3 separate regions of the Homo sapiens genome follow, and all the other regions are linked to region 2. Evidence: promoter capture Hi-C in 16 types of primary human blood cells and fetal thymus (Javierre and others, 2016). All regions are on one chromosome and are shown on one strand. Each heading gives the region's core, a stretch centred on a gene start or on the middle of the fragment in contact. The rest is flanking DNA. Distances are from core to core; before and after follow the strand shown.

What was found. The method cuts DNA at HindIII sites, captures the fragments that hold promoters and counts their contacts. A CHiCAGO score of 5 or more calls a contact.
Region 1: a contact is called between the fragment with the promoter of RETREG1 here and the fragment with the promoter of DAP in region 2, in 1 of 17 cell types (non-activated CD4 T cells). The highest score is 6.1, in non-activated CD4 T cells.
Region 3: a contact is called between the fragment with the promoter of ICE1 here and the fragment with the promoter of DAP in region 2, in 8 of 17 cell types (naive CD8 T cells, total CD8 T cells, fetal thymus and 5 more). The highest score is 18.3, in naive CD8 T cells.

What each region holds. Positions count from the first base shown.
Region 1 is chr5:16,615,057-16,618,726 of GRCh38, forward strand. RETREG1 (reticulophagy regulator 1) reads right to left here and starts at 1,941. Exons shown (of 9, transcript NM_001034850.3): 1 at 1,596-1,941. The coding sequence starts at 1,915. It overlaps RETREG1-AS1 (RETREG1 antisense RNA 1), which reads left to right and starts at 870. Exons shown (of 4, transcript NR_109946.1): 1 at 870-1,430. RefSeq lists a silencer at 1,695-2,184. The HindIII fragment of the contact is 3,701 bases long and covers 1,248-3,670 here.
Region 2 is chr5:10,759,489-10,763,220 of GRCh38, forward strand. DAP (death associated protein) reads right to left here and starts at 1,746. Exons shown (of 4, transcript NM_004394.3): 1 at 1,526-1,746. The coding sequence starts at 1,580. It overlaps DAP-DT (DAP divergent transcript), which reads left to right and starts at 1,548. Exons shown (of 3, transcript NR_187555.1): 1 at 1,548-1,728. RefSeq lists silencers at 1,302-1,731, 1,812-2,281 and an enhancer at 1,804-2,649. The HindIII fragment of the contact is 9,246 bases long and covers 1-3,732 here.
Region 3 is chr5:5,421,427-5,424,924 of GRCh38, forward strand. It overlaps ICE1 (interactor of little elongation complex ELL subunit 1), which reads left to right and starts at 1,251. Exons shown (of 19, transcript NM_015325.3): 1 at 1,251-1,573. The coding sequence starts at 1,490. It overlaps LOC101929200 (a long non-coding RNA gene), which reads right to left and starts at 703. Exons shown (of 6, transcript XR_001742583.3): 1 at 1-703. RefSeq lists enhancers at 1-497, 498-1,008, 874-1,123 and silencers at 1,154-1,483, 1,544-1,683. The HindIII fragment of the contact is 2,607 bases long and covers 1-1,770 here.

The DNA of each region.
Region 1 (3,670 bases), core at 691-3,190, 5.9 Mb after region 2:
GTGAGACTGTATTAGTTTTTTAAAGAAATAAAATTTAAAATTAAGAAATAAAATGTTAAGGCCGGGCGCAGTAGCTCACGCTTGTAATCCCAGCACTTTGGGAGGCCGAGGCGGACGGATCACGAGGTCAGGAGATCGAGACCATCCTGGCTAACACGGTGAAACCCCGTCTCTACTAAAAAAAATACAAAAAACTGGCCAGGCGTGGTGGCGGGCGCCTGTAGTCCCAGCTACTCGGGAGGCTGAGGCAGGAGAATGGCGTGAACCCGGGAGGCAGAGCTTGCAGCGAGCCGAGATCGCGCCACTGCACTCCAGCCTGGGCGACAGAGTGAGACTCCATCTCAAAAAAAAAAAAAAAAGAAAGAAAGAAAGAAAAGAAAAAGAAATAAAATGTTAAAAACATCGTAAACATTAGTGAGACACAGCCCTAAGACTATTAGACTATTGCCCAATCTAGCATAAGACAATATGTCCTTCTTATTTGAGTGCTCGCATTCACTCCATAATAAGATAGATTTGGAATAAACTCTATTCCAAACACAGATACCTAAGAGATCCAAAGTTAATTCACTTTCAGGGACCTCCGACAAGATACAGCTAGTTTTAAGAGAAAACACCAGGACTAGCAGAGATCTGAGGAAAATATTCATCTTGCTCAAGTTAACCTAGAAAATGACAGGCTGTCTATTTTGTGCAATTTATTTATTTCTCAACTTTAAGGTTCAGAAATCTCTGTCCTGTAACAAGGTATCTGTTACCGGAGTCTGATTATTCTGCACTGTGTAGGTCATGTTTGTTATGAGGACACTTAGCAAACAAAGAAGGTTTTTCTCCGCCCTCAATAGCGTGGTAACGGATGACAGGACACCACTTTCAACGAAGGAGACAGACATTTCCCTGGCCTTTCTGAAGAGCGCTTTTTGGAGAGACAAACCTGTTGCTCAGGGGCTGAGCATTCCCGTGTGTTCTCCCTGTACTTCACCTAAAAATATGCCTGTTTTCCACACTGTGCACACCCGGGGGTGGGTGCTGGGCATACTCCACCTGCTTGTTTGCCTCCCGTTTTCTCATCAGGGAGTAAACACAGTAAACCTAACGCTCCAGGGGAAGGAAAAAACAAATCATTCAGGGCCCATCTCAGGTGACTGATGAATGCGGCACCGTTTTGAACGGGTACCTAATCTGGTCCAGATATGCCTGCTGGGGCTGCAAGAACCAAGACACGTTCAAGCACGTTTGCTCCGGCAAGCTTGGGCGAGCAGGTCAAGACCTCAGAGTTTTAGAAAGCAGGGGCGAAGTTTTCAAGCACGATGGGAACACCTGTAGGTGCAGGTGCCTGAGGGTCGGCCGACCACCTCGCATCTGAGGCTGGATCCGCACACGGAGAACGACAACTGCTCACAGGGACGTGCGTCCGGAGGAAAGTTGCGGTGAGTGTCTACCTGTTCGAGACAGGTGGCCGAGAAAGTGGGGCAGGGCTGACAATTCTTCCTCCGCAGTGTCCCGCGGGCTCCCCCTGCACTGGGTCCCCGGGGCCCCGGGCGCCCCAAGGTCACCTGCCCTCCTCAGCGCCCCCACCTTGCCCAAGCTCTCACCAGAACAGCAGGTTGGCAGCGACGAAGCCGAGCAGGCTCCGCAGCGGCCTCTTCCAGCTCAGCAGCTCGTCGGCGCGGCAGCCCAGCCACAGCACCGGCTCCCCGAGCAGCCAGGTTACCGCGGCCGCCGCCCGGCCCGCGGCCTCCTCCACCTGCAACCCCGCGCCCTCCGCCGCCCCAGCTTCCTGCGCTTCCTCCTCCTGCTGCTGCCGCTCTGCGGGGGATGCCTGGGGCGGTGGCGGCGACGGCGGCGCCTGCTCCTCGGCGGCAGGAGCCGGGCATCCCTCCTCGGCGTGCTCCGGAGGCGCCGGGCTCGCCATCTTCAGCTGTGCTTCCAGACAGGGACGGGGCCGGGCGCGCGCGCGGGCGCGCCTGGGTGTGGGTGCCGCCGAGGGCGGGGCGGCGGTGGCGGCAGGTCCCGGAGCGGGGCGCGCACCGCGGGGCACAGGCGGCTGGGGGCCTTGTGACGCCACAGGCCACGGAGGGGGAGCCGCCCGGGAAAGTGGGTGCGGCCGAGTTCGCGCAGGGGCGGGGCCGGGCGCCGGGAGCTGGGCGGTGTCCCCGGGGGGCTCTGGGTTCCTGGAGGGCCTCTCCGGGACTCGAGGAAAACGACCTTTTCCCTTGCAGCGGCGGGAGAGGGCGAAGTGGAGGACTGCTGCTCGGTTCCGTATCCAAAAGAGACCCAAGGCTCCAGGCAAAATAGATTGGACATTTTCACTTTCTCAAGCCAGGGCCACCGGTCGCCCAACCAGCAGCCACTGAGGGTGGTATCGGGGCGCCCCTTCCCCTGGCAGCGTATTTCAGCCCCCAGAGACATCCCCCACCTCGGCCATCCCCAGCGCCTTTGCAGGGACAGCAGCACAACCATAGCAGAGGTCCTGGGCATCCTGGAAATAACGTGCTGGTATAAATGTTGGATTGAGAAAGGAAGAAAAAACATTTGGGGTCAATTTGGGGCCCTCTCGTTTGACACGGGAGGAAACACAAGGCCGCAGCGTTGGGGGAAGCTGCTTCCTTTCTCTCTCTTCTTTCTCTCTGTCTCAGGTGCTTCCTTTCTCTTCTCTGTCTCTCTCTCTCTCTCTGCCTCTCCCTCTCTCTCCCCCGTCTCTCCCCCTATCTTCCCCTCTCTCCTCCTATCTCCCCCTCTCTCCCCCTCCTTGTGGCTAGGTGATCTGGCTCAGAAGTGCACGTTGGCCCGCGCGTGCGGGGAGCTGAGAAGCAAGAGATTGGAACTTTGCACGTGTCAAGCAAGGTTTGGCCTGCTTTGAAGACAGTAATTTCAGAGCCACTCCGGTCTCTGCGTCACAAGCGGGCATCAGGGCAGTGGTGGGGCGGCAGGGGATCCTGAGACCTCCCATGCCCTCTCTTTGGCCCCGGTGCTTCTGGGTGAGTGTGGGGAGAGAGGAAAATAGTTGTTTATGCTTTTCACCATTTGCATTTTTAAATTTTTGTCTTCTTTAATCTTCCTGGTCTTACTTTTACTCTAGAATGACAGGTCCTTCCCCCCCATACTAAGGGTTCTGTCTGCGGATGCATCAGGGCATCTCATATCCCTTTACTGGCAACCAGCCTGCCTGCACAGGATGGAAGGGAGGGCAATTAAATTCCCTGCGTCAAGGGAGTCTCTAGGGGAATGTTCTGTAACGCTCCTCTGGGTGGCCATTGTAAACCTCTGTGTATACACACGTGGAATCCATTGATCTGTACATTCACTGCAGGTGTCTGCACTTTACTGCTTGTATGTTGTACTTCAAAGGAGTTATATTCCCAGAGCCCAGGCAAAGGCTTACTGAGCACCTACCGAGTACACAAAGCATTGCTAAGCTCTGTGGATGCAGCTTCCACCCACAGGAAGCTCCCAGTCTGATGAGGGCCCAGTTACAATTGTGATATCTGCCACAGCGAAGAAGCCTTCGCTAAGTGCTAAGAGATTCCTTACTTAAACTGTGCATCCAAAATTAGGGGAGGAGTGGAGGGATCAGGTTTCAAGAGCGTTTTGTAATAAATGGCCTCTGCCCTAAATTGTAGGGCCCCCATTAGTGTGGGGATTGGGGACAGGGGCAATAACTGCTGTT
Region 2 (3,732 bases), core at 496-2,995:
CAAATTCCCCCAAAACCATTTTCCATCACAGTGGAATGATTTTCTAAAACCCCATGCCTCTTAAGTTCTCTGGCATCAGTTAGACATTTTTCTTTCCCAGTGCCAGTTAGTTTTGTTGTAGAGAGCCTCCGTCACCACTGAAAAATATTGCCTACTCTGGACTGCAACATATTTAAAGAACGGCTCCTATTCATTGTGCTGGTGCAGAGAATTCCCGCCCTATAGCGGAGGACAGCAGAGAAGGATAATGGGAATCTTTTTTTTTTTTTTTTTTTTTTTTGAGATGGAGTCTCGCTCGCTTTGTCGCCAAGGCTGGAGTGCTTTGGCTCAATCTTGGCTCACTACAACTTCTGCCTCCCGGGTTCAAGCCATTCTCCTGCCTCGGCCTCCTGAATAGCTGGGATTACAGGCGCCCGCCACCATGCCCAGCTAATTTTTCTACTTTTAGTAGAGATGGGGTTTCACCATGTTATCCAGGCTAGTCTTGAACTCCTGACCTCAAGTGATCCACCCTCCTTGGCCTCCCAAACTGCTGGGGTTACAGGCATGAGCCACCGCGCCTGGCCAGGAATCTTTATTGTCAAGAAAATGGCGCAAATGTGCCACCAAAAGAAGCCATGTTTCTCAAAGACTTCTGTTCCTACAAGACTGAGTTTATGACACTAAGGCGTGCTATTAAGACCTAAAAGAACCTCACGCATCCATACATTGAAGTGACTTGGCTTCTGAGACCCAAGGCCTTTGATCTTCTCACCAGTGTCCCTCCATATGGGCCGACTGCCACTGGAAAGGAGAGTAGAAACGGAAACAGACCCGTCTGGACAGAATCCAAAGTGCAAACAGGAACTGTGCCCAGAGAGAGGAGGAGGTGGCAGAAGCATGAAGGCTGCTTAGATCCCTATGTTCTAAGAAAGACCGCTCTTTCCTGGCTTTAACTTCCTTGGCTCAGAAGTTTAGGATTTGCTCAAAATCAGAAAAAGCAACTTTGGGGGAAAAAAAAAATCTGGATGTGGAAGAAACTGGCGGTGAAAGTCATATTGAGTGATTAATGATAAAAATTATTTCCGCTCCTTGGTTCTTGAGTCGGTATGAAACGCTGGCAGCCTCTAATTAATCATCACCATGATATTAACACCACTGACTTTTCATTGCTTCTGCTACTTTCTTTCTAGACATCTGTATCCTCTAAGTAAATATTATCCGCCAAAACTTTGTTATAAGTTGTGCAACTGGGTTCGCCCAAGGCACCGGAGCCTGCGCGCAATCGCACAGGTACGCGGCCGCCCGCGGTCCTCAGGAAGAAACGCTTCGCCGCCGCCGGCAAGCGGGGCCGAAGCTCCGGCGGGCTCCTCCCGGGCCTGGGCGCCCGACCTCTCCGCGGCCCGCGCCCCTCGGGCGGGCATCAAGGCCCGGAACCCGTCTCAGCGCTCGCCGGGGCCCTCCCCGCGGAGCCCCCGCCCGGCGCCCCCGGGTTCGAGCCCGCCCCCGGCACCCGCGCGTGGAGAGAGAGGAAAAGAGTCAGTACCGGCGGGCGGGTGTCCAGCTTTAGTCTCTAGTTTCCCTTCGGGAGGCGAAGACATGACGCGGCGGGGCTTCCGCGGGGCCGAGGCGGCGGCGCGGTTCTCGGGCCGGGCGGGCGTGCGCGAGTGAGCTCAGGTGTGAGCGCCGGGGAGCGAGCGGGCGGGAGAACGACGCGCGCGCGTGGGGCGCCGGGGCCGCGCGAGCCGGGTGAGTGCCACTGCCGTTAAGGGGGCGCGGCCGCCGCGCGCCGACGTGGCGCAGCCGAGCCCACCGACGGCATGCGCACTGACGTCACCGCGGCCCGCCCGCCCTGCTGGGCCGCGAGCCAAGCATACGGTGCGTGCGCAGCCGGCCGCGCCACGTCGGATGCTGTGGCCGGGGGCGGGGGCGGGGGCGGGGGCGGGGGCGGAGGAGGGAGGGGAGAGAAGGGGTGAAGAAGTGAGAGGGAGAAGGAAGGAGAGGGAGGCGGGGTCCCCGACTGGCTGCGGGGACTGGAGTTGCGGAAAGTTAAGTAGGGCCCAGCTGAGGATGGCTCCTGCAGCGAACGCGCTCAGCCGGGCTCCTGGCTACGCGGCGACGGCTGGGTGACTGCGCCCCACAGTGCGGGCCAGGGCCGGGGCGTCCCGGCAGGGAGGCGACCGTCCCCTGAGGCCCTCAGCCCCTGCCGCGGCAGCGCCTAATGAAGCGCGGAAAGGAGAGCCCAGATGGCAGCGACGGGGGCCGAGAGAGCAGGAATTTGTTAAAAGACGATGCGAGGGGAGAGCCTGCTTTCCGAGTGAGGGCCAGCGCTGGGGAGCAGAGACGGTGGCTTCTGTCCCTGCCCTCCTCGTTATGAACCAAAAATAAAATTCTAAGCCCTGCAGCCAACGGATGGACCCTCCCCTCCGCCTGTGGCCTTCTAAGTTATCTTGAAAAACTAGTTCAGGCCTTGATGGGAAGCGGAAGTCAAACATGGCCTCACAAACATCCGCACGGAGACCCTAAGACTAATAGAGGACTCTGATAAGAAACATTTGCAGTGTATTCCCGGCTTCATCTGCATGATAACACCTTGGTCTCCACAACTCCTTCATGCAACCCGGACATTCCCTTCTACTGAGTCCAGGTCTTTAGATGATAACTCTCAACCAGTTGCCAATCAGAAAACCTTTAAATGTACCTATGACCCGGACGCCTCCACTTCACATTTTACCTCCTAAAGAGCCAACCTACATCTTACGTATTGATTGATGTCTCATGTCTCCCTCAAATGTATAAAACCAAGATGTTTCCTGGCCACCCTGGGCACATGTCATCAGAACCTCCTGAGGTTGTGTCAATGCACGTCCTTAACCTTGGCAAAATAAACTTCCTAAATTGAGACCACTCTCAGAAACTTTTGGTTTTCACCATCATCTTCCTGTTGCCGTGGCTGACCCCTGGCTCTCGTGCCTTGGATCGTGTTCTTCCCGCCTGCCCCAGTGTTTTGCAACTGCTGTTAACTTCCGCAATGCCTTGCTGGATTCGCATTCAGACAGGCCTAATCTCTTTAGCGAAGGAAACACCACCCCTCGCTTGGCTGTACTTTTCCCTTTGACAACAAAACTGTTCAGGGAGGCTGAGCTCCTCATCTCTTGTCACTCCCTCCAGTCCAGTTTGTCTGGTTTTCATCAAGTTCTGCTGCACTGCCCTCAACCATGGGAGGTCCTTTTGTGGAAGTCACTTATAACCTATGTGCTGCCAGATCCAATGGTCATTTTCTACTTTCATTCTATTTGAGCTCTTAGCAGCACTTGATGCAGCTGGCCGTCCCCCTCCTCCTTTGCTCCGGAGGTGCCACATCACTGCCTTACCCTCCAGTTCTCTGGCCACCCTGGCTGCTCACTCTGTCAGCTTGGCAGTTCGCCCTCTTCTAGATTTATAAACATTTGAGTATCGCAAGGCTCAGCATTGGCCTTCTTCTCTATCTAGACTTCCCATAGATAGTCACATGCAGCCTGTGGACGACTATCATGCAGATGCTTACAGGTGCCAAATCTGCAACCTCATTTCTCTATTTCTGCTCCTCCCCTGAACTCCAGACTCACCACCACCACCACCTGCAGACGCTTATGGGTGCCACATCTGCAACTTAATTTCTCTCTTTCTGCCCCTCCACTGAACTCCAAACTCACCACCGCCACCTTGGCTTCTCTATTTGTTGTCTAACTCAGTGCTGCGCAACTCTGTGCA
Region 3 (3,498 bases), core at 1-2,500, 5.3 Mb before region 2:
TCTATCACCGGCAGGTCCTCAGTTAGGTACACGCCTGTCTTGCTTGGGTGTCAACGACAGGAAACTTAGCTATCGCTGGATGTCTGCTTCCGCCACTCCACAGCAGGTGGTATCCAGAGTGTGTAAGCAAGGTCAGGGGTGCGAAATTTGGAGAAGAAAACTCAGAGAAAAATGCAGACTGCTTTTTTTGGAAGGGGTGTTTTCAGTTGCAATTTCCATACTGAGGAGCTAGAAATTGGCTGGTAAGGTCTAGACATTAACTTAACTAAACGTGCATTCCTCCTCTTGAATTTGGACTTTATAAGGAATTTGGATTGTATAACCACACGATGGAAGCTGCGAGAGGCTTCTGAACAAGGTACTGACGGCGACCAGCTGTGATGACTAAAAAGACGATTCTGGTGGTGGTGGATACGGTGGCTGGAGATAAGAAAAACCTCGGTTCAAACGAGATCTGAATTTACCCACTAACTACGACCACGAGGAGTTTATTCCTTTATCTTTCCGTTTTCTCTCTCTCCCGAGAAGTGTCAAAAACAGGATTTGGAGGTGGCAGGATAATGGCCAAAATGGGTAGACAAGGTGGCGAACGATTCAACCAGGCTCTGGGCTTGGCGCATGGTGGGCGGTGGCGCCCACACCTGGGCCTGGGAACCCGCCGCTCGGGCATCACTGGCTGCCGCGGCGACCGGCGAGGACACATGACCGAGGAGCGAAAGGTCAGAAGACAAGGGGACTGTTACAGGAGCAGGGGAGCCGCCACTGGCTGCTAAGGCCGTGCAACTGGCGCCGAAGCGCACGATCTCCGCCCGCCCCGCAGCGCGTCGGGAACTGTAGTCCCTCCCTCTCCTGCTCCCTGGCCCAGGACGGGCTCCGGGACAGCGCCTATCCCTCTAGCTGTAAATCACGCACTTTCCTGTCCTGGACGCCGGGTCCTTCCACTTCTCAGGCGTCTGGAGCTTACGTCACGGGCGGGTCACCGCCCACATAGCGGAGGCCTTTAGGTGTCTATGGAAAGCCTGTCGTACAGCAAGGTGGCAATAAAGGATCGACCCTTAACAGTGGTAGGAATGCACCTTCGATCCTTCTACTCCTATTGGCTGCTCCTCTGTGGGCGTCTCCCCCGCCGCATAGCACAGCTCCTCTCCCGGTGTTGCTCAGGCAGCGCCTTAGGCAGCCCCGCGCCCAGGGGAGGGGCGGGGCGAGCCAGGGCGGGGCGGGGCGAGCCAGGGCGGGGCGGGGCCCTGACTGGACTGCGTCGCGCTCGGGGGCCGCGCCGGGTAGCGTTTCTTTTTAGTGCCTGAGGCAGCTCTGGCTCGGAGAGCCTTTTGCTAGCCCCACGGGGACCTCTGTGCACGGATGGACCCGCCCGGACCTGGCGGGAAGCGGCCTGGCAGGCGGCGGCCCCGGCGGCATCAGCAGAGACAGGACGGGGCCGACGCCGCGGGCCCCTGAGGCGTGCGTGCCCACCGGGCCCGGCGGCGGCACCATGATGCCGGGCGAGACCCATTCGGCGGCGCCCGGGACGGCGGCGGACCTGTCGCGATGTCAGGGCTGCGCCTCTCTGCAGCAGGTGCAGCACCTCCCGGGGCCCCGGGCGCGGGGGGGGACTCGGCTCGGCCGGCCGGGAGCGCAGGGATGTGGGGTCCGGCCGCGCGGGCTGTGCCTCAGTGCGCTGCTCTCCCTTCCCAACCGTAGCTCTTGCTCGCTCGTCTCTCTGCTCTCTTTTTCCTACATGAGTTTTGGGGACGGCTTTCTTTGCTTTATTTAAGCTTGAAACCCAGAGTTCATTGACTGGAATGCGCTGGTGTAACGGTGGGGGTGGAGTAAGCGAGGTTTGGAGGGCCCCCCACCTTCCCTACCCGGCCTCGGAGCTCCCTAGGGCAGACTCCGTAGGTCAGTGAGGGACAGGTGAAACGCCGAGGGCAGTTATCTCCCTGAGGATAACGCTTTGGTCTTCTGGCCCATCCTGAGTATTTGTTGTTTGGAGGCAGAATCTTACGTGACATGTGGGTTGTCTGAGTCTTAGACTCGAAGAGTCTAGGGAGGCGTTTCAGCTTATAGCAGATGTGCCATCCCGAGGCTAATTTTTTAAAAAGCAAGCCAAGTAATTGGTCAAGTAGCTTGTCAGTTGTTTGATAAAAGTAGTTTATGAAAGGCATGCAGAGACTGGAGGTTTCTAACAGCGGCGTGGGCTCTTCTTTAGAGTGACATAAGGGAGAATTGCTAGAGTATGGCTCCAGATCTTATGGGGTGGTACTTGGGCAATAGTGCCCCTCATTTCCCACGACTCTCCTAGCTGCCTGATGTCGGGGGTCTCTTTTAACTTCCTACTATCGCGGTTTCAGTGATAAAACGGAACTCACCAGCACCTCATTACCTACTCTGCCTAGTGTTCTAGGAACTACAGACATTGTGGTGAACAAAATAGGATCTCTCATAAGTAAGATGCATATGTGTGAATAAGGCCTCAGAAGATTTTAGGTGTTAGAAAATAAAGGAGGATGTTGGAATATTGGTCTTGTCTCTTAGCTAGAGTAGTCAGGTAGGGAATTTTTGAGTCAGTAACTTTCAGATATTTGAATAATGGGAAGGATCGGGCTGTCAGAAGAGATGTGGGAAGAGCTTCCTGGATAGAGGGATTAACAGGTGGAAAGGTTCCTTTGGTGAGAAGGAGCAGGGTGTCTTTGATGAGCAGAACATGGTATGGTTGGCATGAGCATAGTGCACACGGAAGATGGTTGATGAGACCAGACGGGAGTGCAGGCTAGGTAGGCCATGCCGAGAAACTTGGTTTGCATTTTAAGTGCAATATCTGTGAACTGATTGCAAACATTTTAAGTGTTGAAGGAAGGGGAGGAAGGAAATGTGCTGCTTTTGTGAGTAGAAGGAGAACTAACAGATCATTGCCTTCACTGAGCTGCATTGTGTAGGTATCTTATAACGCCCCCCCGCCCCCGCCACCACCACCCCAGGAACGTGATTGGAGTTCTCCCGAATCTTTAATACATTGTATTTATTATTCGAGCCAATTCACTCAACAAACATTTATTGATCACCTGCCGTATTTTAGACACTGCAATTATGGCATTAGGGGAGAAAAAGACAAAAATTCTTGATCTCTTGGAGCTTCCGTTCTAGGAGGGTGGCAGGATAAATGAAACAAATGAGTTATGTTAGAGGGTAATGAAAACGTTGTTGATGAATTGAACAGAGATGGGGAGGGAATGAATGGGTGAGGACTAGGCCAGTGGCTGTTGGAATTTAAGTAGGGAGTCCTGGAACGTTTATATTGGAGCAAAGGTGAGAGAATAATAAGCTCTGTAGAAATCTTGGAAGAAAAGTCTCCCATACAGTGGAAACATCAGATGTGAAGAACTGTAGCAGGAGCTGGCTTGGTGTGCTTGGGAAGAGCAAGAAGGCCAGTGAAGCTGGAGCGGAGTGAATGCTGGGAGTCAGGAAGGTAGGAGGAGGGCCTGATTGTGTGGGCTCCTGTAG